Linked DNA regions of Homo sapiens: all the other regions are linked to region 4. The links are contacts of gene promoters, found by promoter capture Hi-C in blood cells and fetal thymus (Javierre and others, 2016). All regions are on one chromosome and are shown on one strand. The core of a region is centred on a gene start or on the middle of the fragment in contact, and the rest is flanking DNA. Distances in the headings are between cores, read along the strand shown. Region 1 overlaps THAP4 (THAP domain containing 4). Region 2 overlaps DTYMK (deoxythymidylate kinase). Region 3 holds the start of THAP4 (THAP domain containing 4). Region 4 holds the start of MTERF4 (mitochondrial transcription termination factor 4). Region 5 holds the start of RNPEPL1 (arginyl aminopeptidase like 1).

Evidence for each region. Contacts are between HindIII fragments. The CHiCAGO score rates a contact against its expected background, and 5 or more counts as called.
Region 1: a fragment that was not itself captured here is called in contact with the fragment with the promoter of MTERF4 in region 4 in 1 of 17 cell types (total B cells); the score reaches 7.1 in total B cells.
Region 2: a contact is called between a fragment that was not itself captured here and the fragment with the promoter of MTERF4 in region 4, in 1 of 17 cell types (total B cells). The highest score is 6.7, in total B cells.
Region 3: a contact is called between the fragment with the promoter of THAP4 here and the fragment with the promoter of MTERF4 in region 4, in 8 of 17 cell types (erythroblasts, naive B cells, M0 macrophages and 5 more). The highest score is 10.3, in erythroblasts.
Region 5: the fragment with the promoter of RNPEPL1 here is called in contact with the fragment with the promoter of MTERF4 in region 4 in 2 of 17 cell types (non-activated CD4 T cells and naive CD4 T cells); the score reaches 6.0 in non-activated CD4 T cells.

What each region holds. Positions count from the first base shown.
Region 1 is chr2:241,614,725-241,617,424 of GRCh38, forward strand. The region is part of intron 2 of THAP4 (THAP domain containing 4); the gene reads right to left. Among named protein-coding and RNA genes, the nearest start is that of THAP4, 21 kb to the right of the region's middle. RefSeq lists an enhancer at 828-1,634. The HindIII fragment of the contact is 4,628 bases long and covers 1-2,700 here.
Region 2 is chr2:241,682,233-241,684,932 of GRCh38, forward strand. All of the region lies in intron 2 of DTYMK (deoxythymidylate kinase), which reads right to left. Among named protein-coding and RNA genes, the nearest start is that of DTYMK, 3.2 kb to the right of the region's middle. The HindIII fragment of the contact is 210 bases long and covers 1,179-1,388 here.
Region 3 is chr2:241,635,708-241,638,407 of GRCh38, forward strand. It overlaps THAP4 (THAP domain containing 4), which reads right to left and starts at 1,451. Exons shown (of 6, transcript NM_015963.6): 1 at 1,234-1,451. The coding sequence starts at 1,310. ATG4B (autophagy related 4B cysteine peptidase) reads left to right here and starts at 1,986. Exons shown (of 13, transcript NM_013325.5): 1 at 1,986-2,017. The coding sequence starts at 2,008. RefSeq lists silencers at 974-1,113, 1,184-1,253, 1,284-1,633, 2,004-2,053, 2,074-2,263 and 1 more and an enhancer at 1,607-2,534. The HindIII fragment of the contact is 17,924 bases long and covers 1-2,700 here.
Region 4 is chr2:241,101,037-241,103,736 of GRCh38, forward strand. It overlaps MTERF4 (mitochondrial transcription termination factor 4), which reads right to left and starts at 1,251. Exons shown (of 4, transcript NM_182501.4): 1 at 1,217-1,251. The coding sequence starts at 1,237. RefSeq lists enhancers at 498-1,037, 1,038-1,577. The HindIII fragment of the contact is 6,512 bases long and covers 1-2,700 here.
Region 5 is chr2:240,567,050-240,569,749 of GRCh38, forward strand. RNPEPL1 (arginyl aminopeptidase like 1) reads left to right here and starts at 1,435. Exons shown (of 11, transcript NM_018226.6): 1 at 1,435-2,065. The coding sequence starts at 1,538. RefSeq lists silencers at 1,152-1,411, 1,442-1,501, 1,642-1,831, 2,072-2,121 and enhancers at 1,882-2,520, 2,392-2,571, 2,521-2,700. The HindIII fragment of the contact is 8,327 bases long and covers 1-2,700 here.

The sequences.
Region 1 (2,700 bases), core at 200-2,699, 510 kb after region 4:
AAAACACACAAAAAATTAGCCGGGTGTGGTGGTGCATGCCTGTAATCTCAGCTACTCGGGAGGCTGAGGCAGGAGAATCGCTTGAAACTGGGAGGCAGAGGTTGCGGTGAGCCGAGATTGCACCATTGCACTCCAGCCTGGGTGACAAGAGCGAAACTCCATCTCAAAACAAAAACAAAAACAAAAACAAAAACAAAACTAAGGAATGCCTTCTTCAAGTTCCTCTGGAACAGTCATGCAAACTGGCCTTCTAAATGGTCAAAGAAAGCCTGTAAGTTCCAGAAAGCAGAAAGAAGTCTACTGTCTGATCACAATGCAGTGAGACTAGAAATGAAAATCAATCAGGTGTCCCTTGAAAACACTGCGCGAAAAGAAAGAAGCCAGACAAAAACGTATATATTCTATGATTCCAATTAGATGAAATTCGAGACCAGGCAGAAAGGATGGAGGGTGGGGAATCTGAACGGTGACGGGGAGGGGCTTGGAGGGGAGTGCAAAGGAGAACCTGGACCGCTGGACGTGGGTGTGGCTGCACAAGCGCCTGCACCTGCCAAAACTCACCACGGGAACACCTAGGAGCTTGTGTTTCACTTATGCGAATTACACCTCAATAAAAATGTTATAAAGAAAAACCTCCCCAAACAAATTAATATTTCAAAAAGCAGAAAACTTAAAAAAACTAAAAGCATTTTATCCCAAGAGTGTTTACTATGTTACTGCAGCACAGGGTTCTGGGTGGCCTCAGAGCAGGGGATGTGGTGGGGAGTGAGGTCGGCCTCACAGCTCAGGGCCTTGGCTCCTGGCCCCAGGGTCTGCTGCCATCCAAGCTGCAGCACCTACTGCAGATCTAATATTTCGAGAAAAGCCAGAAGCTGATTTTAGGCTAAAATATCCCAATTTCTAAACATCTGTTCAAATTAAAACAAATGACACCACTGTGGTGTGAGTCGCATACCTTGGGGCAGGTGCAGAGGGCCAGAGAGGGCTGGAGCCACACACAGCGCCCTGCCCGGTGCCTCTCACCTCCCACCTCTCCTCTTCACTCCTCTCTTCTCCCAGGTGGGAGTGAGGACGCCACTGGCAGCCACCCAGCACATCCCCGTGCCCCAAGCCCACGGTTCCCGACACATCAGGAGAGCTCTTCGCCGCCCTCAGCCGTGTTTCTGAGTAGGTTTCGCGTTCCTCAGGATGCTGGGGAGCTGGTTCTAGACACAGGCCCAGCCCGGCTGGCCTGGAAGCAAGGAGGGCGCCCATGGGGACACACTCTGCCCCAGTCCTGCAGCTGGAGCAGCCCAGAGCCCCTGCCACAAGACGCCTGGGAGAACTCAGTCAGGGGGCTGGCAAGGACAGGTGAGCACAGCTGGCTCCTCAGAAGAACTGGGCTTATCTGAAGTCTGGTCAAGTTGAACTGGACCATCTATTCCCCCAAGTGGGCCTGGATGGGCCAGAACCTTTTACGTAGGAGGGACGTGGCCCGGGCTTTCTGCCTCGACGACTAGCCCAAGGGAGATGGAAATGAGAGTGAGATAAGAGGGATGGGTGGGCTGGAGATGGCCAGCAGCTGGCATTGCTGGCAGCTTGGAAGGCGACCCGTGACATCAGTGAGAAGGGCGGGTGCAGGCGCACGAGAGCTGAGGGCGAGCCCTGGCATCAGGACCAGAGAGGCCCACCACAGAGCGGGTAAGCAGTGGCACCTGAGCAGGGGGATGGTGTCCTGGTAAGAACAGGTAGGGAGAGGCTGCCTCAAAAATTCTGGCTAAAAGTGAGCTTTTGAGTGGACTTTGCTATGTGCATGCCAGGTCAGGGAAGCAAGTCCCGCGGGCCCTGGAGAGAAGCTACCCTGCAGGCGGCTGCTGCTTCAGGGGCACAGGGCCCACACCACACTTGGGGACAGGACAGGACGCAGCACTTATGTGGCAATTTCTTTTTAAAAAACTAGAGAATTCTAAGATAGCTCTGAAATTCAGAAGAAACGCTTTTGAGCAGAAAAAATAACATCAGACTGGAAAGGAAGGAGCACGCGGCTAAGCAACTAGATGGAGGCTTACGGCTGTGAGCAACTAATGGCTGTGAGAAATACTTCCCTTCCTGTCGCCCTCCTGGCTTGCTGTTATTTGCTCTGAATCTTAATGGAGTTTAATTTGGACAGGGACAACAGGTCAGGCAGTAAACAAGCAGCGGCGGCGCCTCCTTCTGTCTACACTGCACCTCACCAGGTTAACCTGCTCCTGGGGCCGCTCCCCCTGCACCCTCCACCACTTCGGGCCGCGTGGAACGTGGCAGCAGCCTAGCCACTGTCCCTCCTTGTTGTCACTGAAGCATGGGTGGGGGTGAGGACGACCAGTAAGAGAATTTTAGAATCCAAACATCAGGTTACTTGAGCCTAGATATATGTTAAGATCCATCAAACTGTGACCTCAATATCTGTGTATTTTACTCTCTGTAAATTATACTTCATTAGAAAAAAATAAATTTAAACATGAAACAAAAAATACTATAAAGGACCTAGTCTATTTGTCACTTTCCACCTCTTTAAATAAACCAGACAGGCTTTTCTAGGCATTTCTTTTCTGATTTCATTTTTCTTTTATTGAAATCTCAACCAAAACACAAAAACAAAAATTTAAATTTCCTGCAAGAAATTTAAATTTTCATGTTTTGGCCCAAGACACTGAAAGCAGGCTTACCCATCCCTAAGTT
Region 2 (2,700 bases), core at 34-2,533, 580 kb after region 4:
TGGGAGGCTGAGGTGGGAAGATCACTTGAACCCGGGAGGTCGAGGCTGCAGTAAGCTGTGATTGCGCACTGCACTCAGCCTGCATGACACAGAGACCCTGTCTAAAAAAAGAAAAGAGAGAAAGAGAGTGAGAAAACAGAAAAGGCAAACCACAGCCTAGGAGAAAATATGTATAAAAGACACATTTTATAAAGGACTGTTATCTAAAGCATACAAAGAATTCTTAAAACTCAAAAATAAGAAATCAACCAACCCCCTTAAAAAGTGGGCCAAGGCTGGGCGTAATGGCTCATGCCTATATTCCCAACACTTTGGGAGGCGGAGGCAGGCTCATCACTTGAGCCCAGGAATTTGAGTCCAACCTGGGAAACATGGTGAAACCACATTTCCTCAAAAAATACAAAATTGGCCGGGCATGGTGGCTCGTGCCTGTAATCCCAGCACTTTGGGAGGCTAAAGCAGGTGGATCACCTGAGGTCAGGAGTTCAAGACCAGCCTGGCCAACATGACGAAACCCCATCACTAACTAAAAAATAGAAAAATTAGCCGGGCGTGGTGGTGGGCACCTGTGATCACAGCTACTTGAGAGGCTGAGGCAGGAGAATCGCTTGAACCTGCGAGGCGTAGGTTGCAGTGAGCCAAGATCGCCCCATTGCACTCCAGTCTGGGCGACAAGAATGAAACTGTCTCGAGGAAAACAAAAAAGAAATACAAAACTTAGCATGGTGGCATGCACCTGTAGTCCCAGCTACTTGGGAGGCTAAGGCAGGAGGATCGCTTGAGCCTGGGAAGTAGAGGCTGCAGTGAGCCAAGACCGTGCCACTGTACTCTAGCCTGGTTGAGACCCTGTCCCAAAAAAAAGAGTGGGCCAAAGCACTCAACAGATCCCTTACGAAACCAGATACACAGATGGCAAACAAGCATATGAAAAGATACTCCACATCATATGTCAGCAGGGAAATGCAAACTAGAACAATGAGATGCCACACACACCTATCAGAATGGCAAACATCCAAACACTGACAACACCAAATGCTGGTGAGGGTCTGGAGCAATAGCAACCCTTGTTCACTGCTGGTGAGAATGCAAGATGCTGCAGCCACTTTGGAAGACAGTTCACCACAAGCTTGTCCAACCCAAGGCCCGCAGGCTGCATGCAGCCCAACACAAATTTGTTAAGCTTTCTCAAAACGTTACGAGATTTTTTTTTTTAAGCTCATCAGCAATTGTTAGTGTATTTTATGCGTGGCCCAAGACATTTCTTCCAATGTGGCCCAGGGAAGCCAAAAGACTGGATACCCATGGTTTAGCAGTTCTTCACAAAAATTAATAGTCTTACCACATATTAAAGCAGTGGTGCTCCCTGGCATTTACCCAAAAGAAGTGAAAGCTTATGACCACACAAAATCCTGCACCAGGATGTTTATAACAGATTTATAACTGCCAAAACTTGGAAGCAACAAAGATGTCCTTTAGTAGGTAATGAACTATGGTACATCCAAACAAGGGACTATTAATTAGGGCAAAAAAGACATGAACTATTGGTCGGGCATGGTGGCTCATGCCTGTAATCCCAGCACTGTGGGAGGCCGACGTGGGAGGATCACTTGAGGTCAGGAGTTCAAGACCACCCTGGCCAACATGGTGAAACCCTGTCTCTACTAAAACATAAAAATTAGCTGTGCATGGTCGTACGCGCCTGTAATCCCAGCTACTCAGGAGGCTGAGGCAGGAGAAATGCTTGAACCCGGGAGGCGGCGGTTGCAGTGAGCCGAGACTGAGCCACTGCACTCCAACCTGAGCAACACAACGAGACTCTTGTCTCAAAAAAAACCAAAACAAAACAACAAAAAAAAACTATCAAGCCACAGTTAGACATAGAGGAAACTTAAATATCTATTAGGGAAACAAGTAACCTGTAGGAGAATAGATGGACACAAGAGACGTAGCCCTGGGTACCTGGGATAAGATTATTATCTAAAAAGTAAAATCAGGATTATTCTTCATTTTAAATTGGGCATATACGTGTTTCATCACTTTTCTACAAAGCCACAAAAAGCAAAATCAGAAGAACAATTGCCTCCATAAATTCTAGATGTGTTAAAAAGATTATTAAAAATGGTCTCATTTTCATTTAAGACTTGGAGTGGGGACAGCCTTTCCAAGCAAGACACAAAGCTAAGCCGGAGGAGAGTAATGCAGTGTTTCATGTAACACGGATGATGAGGAACCACTGAAGATTCACCAGCAGGGAACTGGCTACACGTACCGTGGTTCTAGAGACAATGCGACGACAATTAAAGAGAATGAGAAGGGCAGAGTTAGGGGATCTGTAAGTGCAGAAATCTGTAAGGCAGAGTTAGAAAGAAAGCTGCCAAATAATTTGTATGGTATGACCTCATTTATGTTAAAAAACAAAATTCTAACTATAGTAGTTTCTACATATGTATATAAATGTAAATAAAAACATTGAAAGAACACACATCAACATTAAGTGTTGAATGAAGAGGAAACCTACTACAATGATGTAAAACAAAAAAAGGTGGTAGGAGAGTTCATATAAACTCAGTTACTAATGTATCAATATTGGTTATCAATTTTAACAAATGTAACATAACACAGCACATAAATAATGGGGAAGGGGGGAAGGCAGGGGTAGTATGTAGGGAGCGCTCTACATACTCTACTTTTTGATCAGTT
Region 3 (2,700 bases), core at 201-2,700, 530 kb after region 4:
GCAGTGAGCCGAGATCGCACCAATGCACTCCAGCCTGGGCGACAGAGGGAGACTCCTTCTCAAAAAAAAGAGAAAAAAAGAAAAAAAAACCAGGCCCTAATGTGCACATAAGGGACAGGGTGGTCAGTTCTAACTGCTATTTGCTCCACCTGAGGCCAGTGTGGACCAGGACAAATCCTAACAGGATGGACTGGGCCGTTCTAAGCAACAGGACCTTCTAACCTCCTTTCTGAACACTGTGAGGCCAACTGCAAAGGTACCCCCCCACCCCCAATTCCGATGTCCTTTCCTCCCATACCATGTTAGACCGTTGCAACACGTTGCCTCGTTTTCAAAAAACAATAACAAAACTTCTAGGACACAAGCTCTGAAGGAAATTGTCAAGAAAGTGCGCTGGCTGACTTGTGAAATAATCTAATGTTACTAATTCTTATAATACATTGTAATGATTTAAGACTTACAGCAAACTACTGTGAACTTTCAATAACCCTATAAATAACACGTGCCATTCCCGTCTTTAAAACTTAAATAACACCATGCAACATAAAACAGAAACATCTCCAAAGTGGTTTTTAAAGTCTGTTCGCGGTTCTGGTGCCTCCCGCGTGTAATCCGCAGAAATCTCACTGAAATAGGCTGAACTCACAAGGCCTTAGAGGGGTTTGGGCCCTGCCGCGGGGGCCCACGTGGGAAGCGGCCGAGAGCCCCGGGCCAGGCTCTAAGGGAGCGCAGGAGGATGCCGTCCCCAGCCGGCCGTCCCGTAGACTCTCCGCGCGTACCCGCGTCCTGGGCTCGGGGGCCCAGTCCCGGAAAGCCCTCTCGGGGGCTGTCAGCTACGGAGGCGCAGGTCGCGTCTGCCCGGTCGCTCCTGCTCGCAGACATCCAGGCCGACGGCCCGCGCGGTCCGGAGAGTCAGCAGTCGCGGCCGAGCAGGACAATCGGCCCAGGACCTGCGCTTCCAGAGCGTGCGGCTTCTGAAGCCTAGGCGCCGGCCGGATCGATCGCGCGCAGGGCGGACCCAGGCGGCCGGGGTGGGGGCGGCTGCGCTGCCCGAGGCGCCCGGCCCAGAGACGGCGGCCGGGCCAAGGTCACACAGCGCCCACGCCCGCTCCCCCGCGCCCCGGCCGCCGAGGCCCGGCGCCCCCGCCCCCCGCGTTCGGGCCGGCCGCGGGGCCTCAGTTTCCCCGCAGGGCCGGGTCGGGGCGGGGGCGTGGCGGCCCGGGGCCCGCGTACCTGTGGAAGGAGACGGCGCGCTTCTCGCCCTTTCCCTGCCGGTTGGAGCAGTTCACGGCCGCACAGCAGATCACCATCGCGGGCCTTGGCCCAGCCGCGCAGCCAGGCCCCGGCCCTAGCCGCCCGCCCGCCCGCGGACCGCCCCGAGGGAGGGAGCGCGGCGGCGACACGGCTCGGGACGTGGGCCGGCCCGCGGCGTCCGCGCCGTACGGCAAGATGGAGGCGCAGGCGCCCGCAGCGGGCCCGCCCCCGCCCCAGCCCCCGCCCGCGTCCTCGCCAGCCGCGGGTTCGGGCGTCTTCGGACCAGCGGGGCGCCGCAGGCCCCTCGCAGCGTCCGTCGGCAGGCGGGCAGACGGGCGGGGGAGTCGCCCCGGCGGGGCAAGTCCGTACCGCGACATGGGCGCGCCGAGCACGTCCGTACCGCAAGATGGCTGCTCGGACGGGGACAGAGCTCGCCTCTGCCGCCTCGACAACTGCTCCTGGGTCCTCTAAGAGGAGGAAGCGCCACCCATGGCACACAGTGTCCCGTCGGACAGCAGAACCAGCCGTCGTCCCACGACACGACCCCATGCCGCCCGCAGGGCGCCCCGGGGCTCGCGTCGGCCCGGCCGTACGCCAAAATGGCGGCTCCCGCGTATTTCCGCTCGCGCGCCGTATCGTCTTCGCCGCCTGCGCCGGCACACCTATTGGCCCCCGCGGCGTCCCGTCGCCGCGTCGCGTTGCTGGCCCGTCGGAGCGACGCCGCTCGGGTCAGTCGGCGGCCGGACTGGGAAGATGGACGCAGGTGAGGAGTTGCCGGGGGTCGGTCTTTCCGCAGGAGGTGCTCGCCTTATCATTGGCCTCCCCTGCTCGGGTCGGGCTGCCGCGACTCGCCTCGGGGCACGCCGGTGCGGGCCAGGCTGGGCCGGGGCGGCGGGCGCTGCGGGAGCGCGGGGCGGTGTTGGTGGGTGGTGGGCGGTGGGAGCGGGAGGGGGACGGCGGCGCACTGCGCCGCGGAACCCGCCGTCGGTTGCGCTGGAGCTTCTGCTTTTCCGGTCCCGTCCGGAGCGCTCCGGAGGTTGTGGCTGCACAGGCCCTTGCGCCAGGTCGGCCGTGGAGGGCGGCGGAGCCTGCCGGGCGGGGAGAGGCGCGGCGGCGAACGGGGCGGCCGCGGTCCGGGCCGGGGACGCGAGCGGCGGGCGAAAGCGTAGCCTTTCCGCAGCTGAGCGTGAAGGGATGGAAGCTCTTTAACTTTTATGAAGTTATTGGTAGGTTGGAGGAGAGAAACGTGACGTGTTCATCACAGTATACGTATCTTTTTTGTTTTTGTCTTCAATTTAGTAACCAGTAGATTCTCCAAGCTGCTTTTCCGTGACGAGAAAGAGAAACAGTGAATTTGTATCATCGGGTCTTAGTTTCTTGGGGTCCTAAGAGAGAGAGAAAGAGAAGGAGTGTGTGTGTGTGTGTATAGGGAGTGTTGGTTTTTTT
Region 4 (2,700 bases), core at 1-2,500:
ATGGAAGACAATTTTTCCACAGACTGGTGAGGGGTTTCAGGATGATTCAAGCATATTACATTTGTTGTGCACTTTATTTCTGTTATTTTCACGTTGTAATATAAGATGAAATAATTATACAACTCACCATAATGTAGAATCACTGGGAGCCCTGAGCTTGTTTTCCTACAACCAGGAGGTGCCATCTGGGGTTGATGGGAAACAGTGACAGATCATCGGGCATCAGATTCTCATAAGGAGCGCAACCTGGACCCCTCAAAGGCGCAGTTCACAATAGGGTTCGCGCTCCAGTGAGAATCTAAGGCGGCTGGTCTGACAGGAGGCGGAGCTCAGGCGGTAATGCCAGCGAAGGGAGCGGCTGTAAATACAGTCTGGCTGGCTCACTTGCCGCTCACCTCCTGCTGTGCAGCCTGGTTCCTAATAGGCAAGGGACGGTACCGGGGGTTGGGGAACCCCTGCTCTAAAACCTTCACATCGGTCCCAACCCCTTCTCCAGCGTCATCGATTGTCGCCCTGGGGCCACCCTGCCAAGCCCAAGCTCTGGCTGCTCTCCAGCCTCCCCTGTCCAGATGCTCCCTCCGCCAGGAACACCTGGCAGTCGCTGGGGTCAGCGGGCGCGGCCCGTGGAACTGGGCTCAAGCCTAAAGACCTCTATGCTGATTCCGCTTCCTCTTAATGAAAAGTACATGTTATCTTCCTTGTGAAGTTCAAACTCTTGTTCAACAGTCAACTCAGGCCGGGCGCGGTGGCTCACGCCTGTAATCCCAGCACTTTGGGAGTTCGAGGCGGGTGGATCACCTGAGGCCAGAAGTTACAGACCAGACTGGCCAACACGGTGAAACCCCGTCTCTACTAAAAATACAAAAATTAGCCAGGCATGGTGGCGGGCGCCTGTAATCCCAGCTACTTGGGAGGCTGAAGCAGTAGAATTGCTTGAACCCGGGAGGCGGAGGTTGCAGTGAGCCGAGATCGCGCCATTGCACTCCAGCCTGGAGACAGAGCGAGACTTTGTCTCAAAAAAAAAAAATGTCAACTCTATATCCCACAATAATTGAGCAGAGCCACGGGTCCAGGATGCCAAAACCAGGTCAGCGTGCACGGACCTCCGGGAGGGCTCCACGACCTGGCCGTGAAACACTCGGCGGCCGCGGTTCCTCTGCGTCGCTGCCCGCCCGCCTGCGACCCGGAGAAGCCCGCGCGCCCAGCTCGAGCTTACCTGACGGCCGAACGCAGCCATAGCGCGGAGAAGATGGCAGCAGTTACGGCGCCGGAAGCAGCGGTCCTCCCCCGTCCTTCACTTCCGGCCCCCGGTCCGTCACCGACGCCGTTCCCAGCGCCAGCGCGGTGTGGTGGATCGTGATTCCGGCCCGGAGCTGTGCTGAGCGTTCACGGCCCCGCGGGGCTCAGGTGTCCCGGGGCCGCCCCTTAGAAAGCCGGAAGGCCGGAGTCGCGCCCGTCACCGTGCCGCCGCCTCTGCCGCGGCCTCAGCCTTCGGGGGCCTCGGTGTCCGGTTGTTCCCGTTGCACTGCCGTGTCCCGTTTCGCAGAGCTCTGGGCCGCGTGAACGAATGGGTCGTCCTGGCCCATACTTGTGTTTCAGATGACCTGAGAATTCCTCTCAAGAGTACAGGTAGAGGGGAACTGGTTCCTTGCTTCGGGAACTTCACCCGAGAGCGCAGAAATCCTTCCCGAGGCAGGAAAAATGGATTCCGTTCCATGTAGAGATATTTAAGATTTTATTGTGTAAAAATCTGTATTCAGCGTGAACACCGGGGCCACCTACGCACAAAAAGAAGTCTTTACCGCTTTTCTTTCTTTTTACTCTCAGCCAGTGGAAGATGAGAATTTGCCGTTTTTAAAAGACCCAAGTAAAATGACAGGAATTACGGCACATTTCCCTTTATAAGCAAGAGCCTTCCCAACTTCGAGGTCTGGTTCCCTCTTAGGATGAAATATAGTAAAGTTTTAGCCCAATGTGTATTCATTCTTAAATTTCCTCTCTCGACCTAAGAGCGTAGGCATCTTTCACAAGGTGATGCTTGTGAAGAATAAAAAGGTGTGCTTTCTCAGCTGCCTAAATCCTGCCACCAAAGCCTTAATTTATAAGCATTTCTTGTTTTATCTACTTCATTCTGGACTGACATAAAGGATTTGATTCTTGCATGGGCACACATTTACATATCTGCTTTGCGCCAGGCATGGAGTGGGGTGCCAAACAATTTATGTAAAACTGTCTTTTGACAAAAGGATTATGTCAAAGAAAAGGAAGGTTCTAATCCGTGTAGAAACTAAAGAATTGGTTGCTTTGGCAGAGTGCAGTGGCCCACGCCTGTAATCCCAGCACTGTGAGAGGCTGAGGTGGGGGGGATTGCCTGGGCTCAGGAGTTCAAGACCAACCTGAGCAACATAGGAAAATCCTGTCTCTACAAAAAATAAAAAATTAGCCGGGAGTAGTGGCGTGCACCTGTAGTCCCAGCTACTCAGGAGCCTGAAGTGGGAGGATCACTTGAGTCCAGGAGGTTGAGGCTGCAGTGAGCCATGATTGCACCACTGCACTCCAGCCTGCGTAACAGAGCAAGACCTTGTCTCAAAAAACAAAAGGAAAAAAAAAATTGGTTGCCTTTGTTGTTTTTTATAATGTAATTTTCTTCTCAAAATACTCAACTGTCAACATCTCACAATAAATTGTGTTAATGCTACA
Region 5 (2,700 bases), core at 185-2,684, 530 kb before region 4:
CAGCTGTCTTCCCTGTCAGCCTTGGATGCGAGGCTGATCCACACCTCTGAGTGACTGTGTAAGCCTAGGGGTTCCTGGTGAGTTTGGGATGGGTGCCCCAAGATCGTGGCCGTGTCCCTAAAGAGGGCACGTGGGGACCTGAGGTCCTACGGGAAAACTGAAATGATGCCTCAGTGCTCTGTCCCGCAAACGTGAACGCACACTCTCCCTCTCAGCCTTCCTTCCCGCCCCACGGAAGGAGGGTAGACACAGAGGGTTACACAACGAGGAGACTGAGTCCAGACACAGGAAACACTACTCAGGGCTGACGCTGAGTCGAGTGCGGTACCCGAGTCCAGCCCTGCACGGCCACACCTCAATGGAGCAGAAGAGAGAGGTGTCCTGGGTTCCTGGATAGTTCCCCAGCCCCAGAAGCCCCTTGTCCCTAGGAATTTGAATTCTTACTTGATGACAACAGCGACATCATGGTGGCCCCTGTTATTCCACAGCCTCAAAATTTAACCGCTGTGAGCTCACTAGCAGCTTCTGCCAGGCGAGCACCCCTTCCCTCGGGGCTCAGGCTCCTGGACAGGCTCAGCCTTGGGCAGCCTTCGCCAGGTCCACAGAGAATGGCGTTGGGAAGGGTGGACCTGGCGGATGGGGTGGGGACAGGCGGGCCAGACCCTCCTTCGTACCCCAGCACAGGGCTCCCAAATGAGAGGTCCCCAGCACTGCCCAGAGGAACTTCTGCGATTGTGGAAATGATTCCTGCCTGCTTTGTCCATTAGCCACTCCTCCCAGGAAGACACACACACTCACTCACTCCACCTGCCACGAAGGAACTGAACTTCTAACTGTATTTAATTCGCATCTAAATGGCCACACGTGGTTGGTGGCTGCTGTAGTTGACAGCGCTGCGTGAAGGCTCCGGCGCTTCTCGCACCGCAGGGCCCACAGCACAGACCACACCTGTAGACTTGGAGGAGTGGCAGGGGTGCCAGGAGAATCCTGCCCTGCCCGTAGCCCCGGATGAAAGGATGACATTGAGTTCGCGACGCTGCGCTCCTCGGGAACACGAACCACACCTGGAAGCAGCCTGCCCCTGTGGCCCCAAGGTTCCCGGGTCCCTTCAGCGGCTGCCCCAGGGGCCTGGCCGGCAGTGTCTGGGAGGGAGCAGCGATCCCGCCTCCTGGGATCTCCCGGGCGCCGCCCGGGGAGGAAGCGAGGGGCTGGGGGTGCTGCTCACCCGCTCCGCGCGCCTCGGCTCCCAACACAGCGCCCCGGCCCCGCGCCGCGCTCGATTCCCCGGCTCCCCGCGCCCCTGGCTCCTGGCCCTCCCCGCCCGGCGCCCCGGCCCCGCGCCCCGGCCCCGCGCACAGCGCCCCCGGCGGCGGCCGAGCGGAGCCCGAGCGGGGCGGCGCACGGCGCGGGGCCGGGCCGGGCGGCTCCCGGCGCGACTTCCTGTTGTGCCCGCGCCCCGCCGCCGCCGCCGCCCGGCGCCCCTCGCCCGCGGCCCGGCGCGGCCGCCGCCCATGGATTTCACCTAGTGCCGGCGGCCATGGCCGCGCAGTGCTGCTGCCGCCAGGCGCCCGGCGCCGAGGCCGCGCCCGTCCGCCCGCCGCCCGAGCCGCCGCCCGCCCTGGACGTGGCCTCGGCCTCCAGCGCGCAGCTCTTCCGCCTCCGCCACCTGCAGCTGGGCCTGGAGCTGCGGCCCGAGGCGCGCGAGTTGGCCGGCTGCCTGGTGCTCGAGCTGTGCGCGCTGCGGCCCGCGCCCCGCGCGCTCGTGCTCGACGCGCACCCGGCTCTGCGCCTGCACTCAGCCGCCTTCCGTCGCGCCCCCGCCGCCGCCGCCGAGACGCCCTGCGCCTTCGCCTTCTCCGCCCCCGGGCCGGGGCCCGCGCCGCCGCCCCCGCTGCCCGCCTTCCCCGAGGCGCCCGGCTCCGAGCCCGCCTGCTGTCCGCTGGCCTTCAGGGTGGACCCGTTCACCGACTACGGCTCCTCGCTCACCGTCACGCTGCCGCCCGAGCTGCAGGCGCACCAGCCCTTCCAGGTCATCCTGCGGTACACCTCGACCGACGCCCCCGCCGTGAGTCCGGGGCGGGCGCCGGGGCTGCGGGCCGGTCCGCAGGGCGCTGCTAGCGGCCTCTCGCCGCACGGCCAGGCTGAGGGACGCGAATCTGCGCCCTACAGGTGCCCCCCTCCCCCCACCCCGGTGATTCCCAGCTGTTGCCTGTGAGCCCTTAGGACCCTCGGATAGAAGCCGGAGTCCTGCGGGGACACGGGACAGCATGTCACTCCGGGAAGCCTCCCGTTCAGGTGTCTGGTCCCTGCCTGGGGACATGAGCAGCTTCTGTCACCCACCGAGGTGTACATCTGCAGGATCCTGGCACCAAGGGTTGGGCTGGAGTGTCAGCTGCGGAAGGGCCTCCATGTGACCAGTGCGTGCAGATGAGTCCAAGCCAGAGGCAGAGGAAAGGGCCATGGAGATTGTGATGCTCGGTTTGGGGCTTCCTTGGCCAGCACTGGTGGAGTGTTGAGACCAGTGGGCCCCGCGACCCCAACATAGACACACATAGGCTCTGCAGGGCTTGCACACTGGGTACCCACCACTCCAGAGACTCTGCAAGAAAGGCCAGGTGGCTGAGGCTGGCGCTGTGGCTGCAGCACCCCCTCCACCTCCACCAGTGGGGATGTGTACAGGATGGAGCAGGGCCTTTCCTG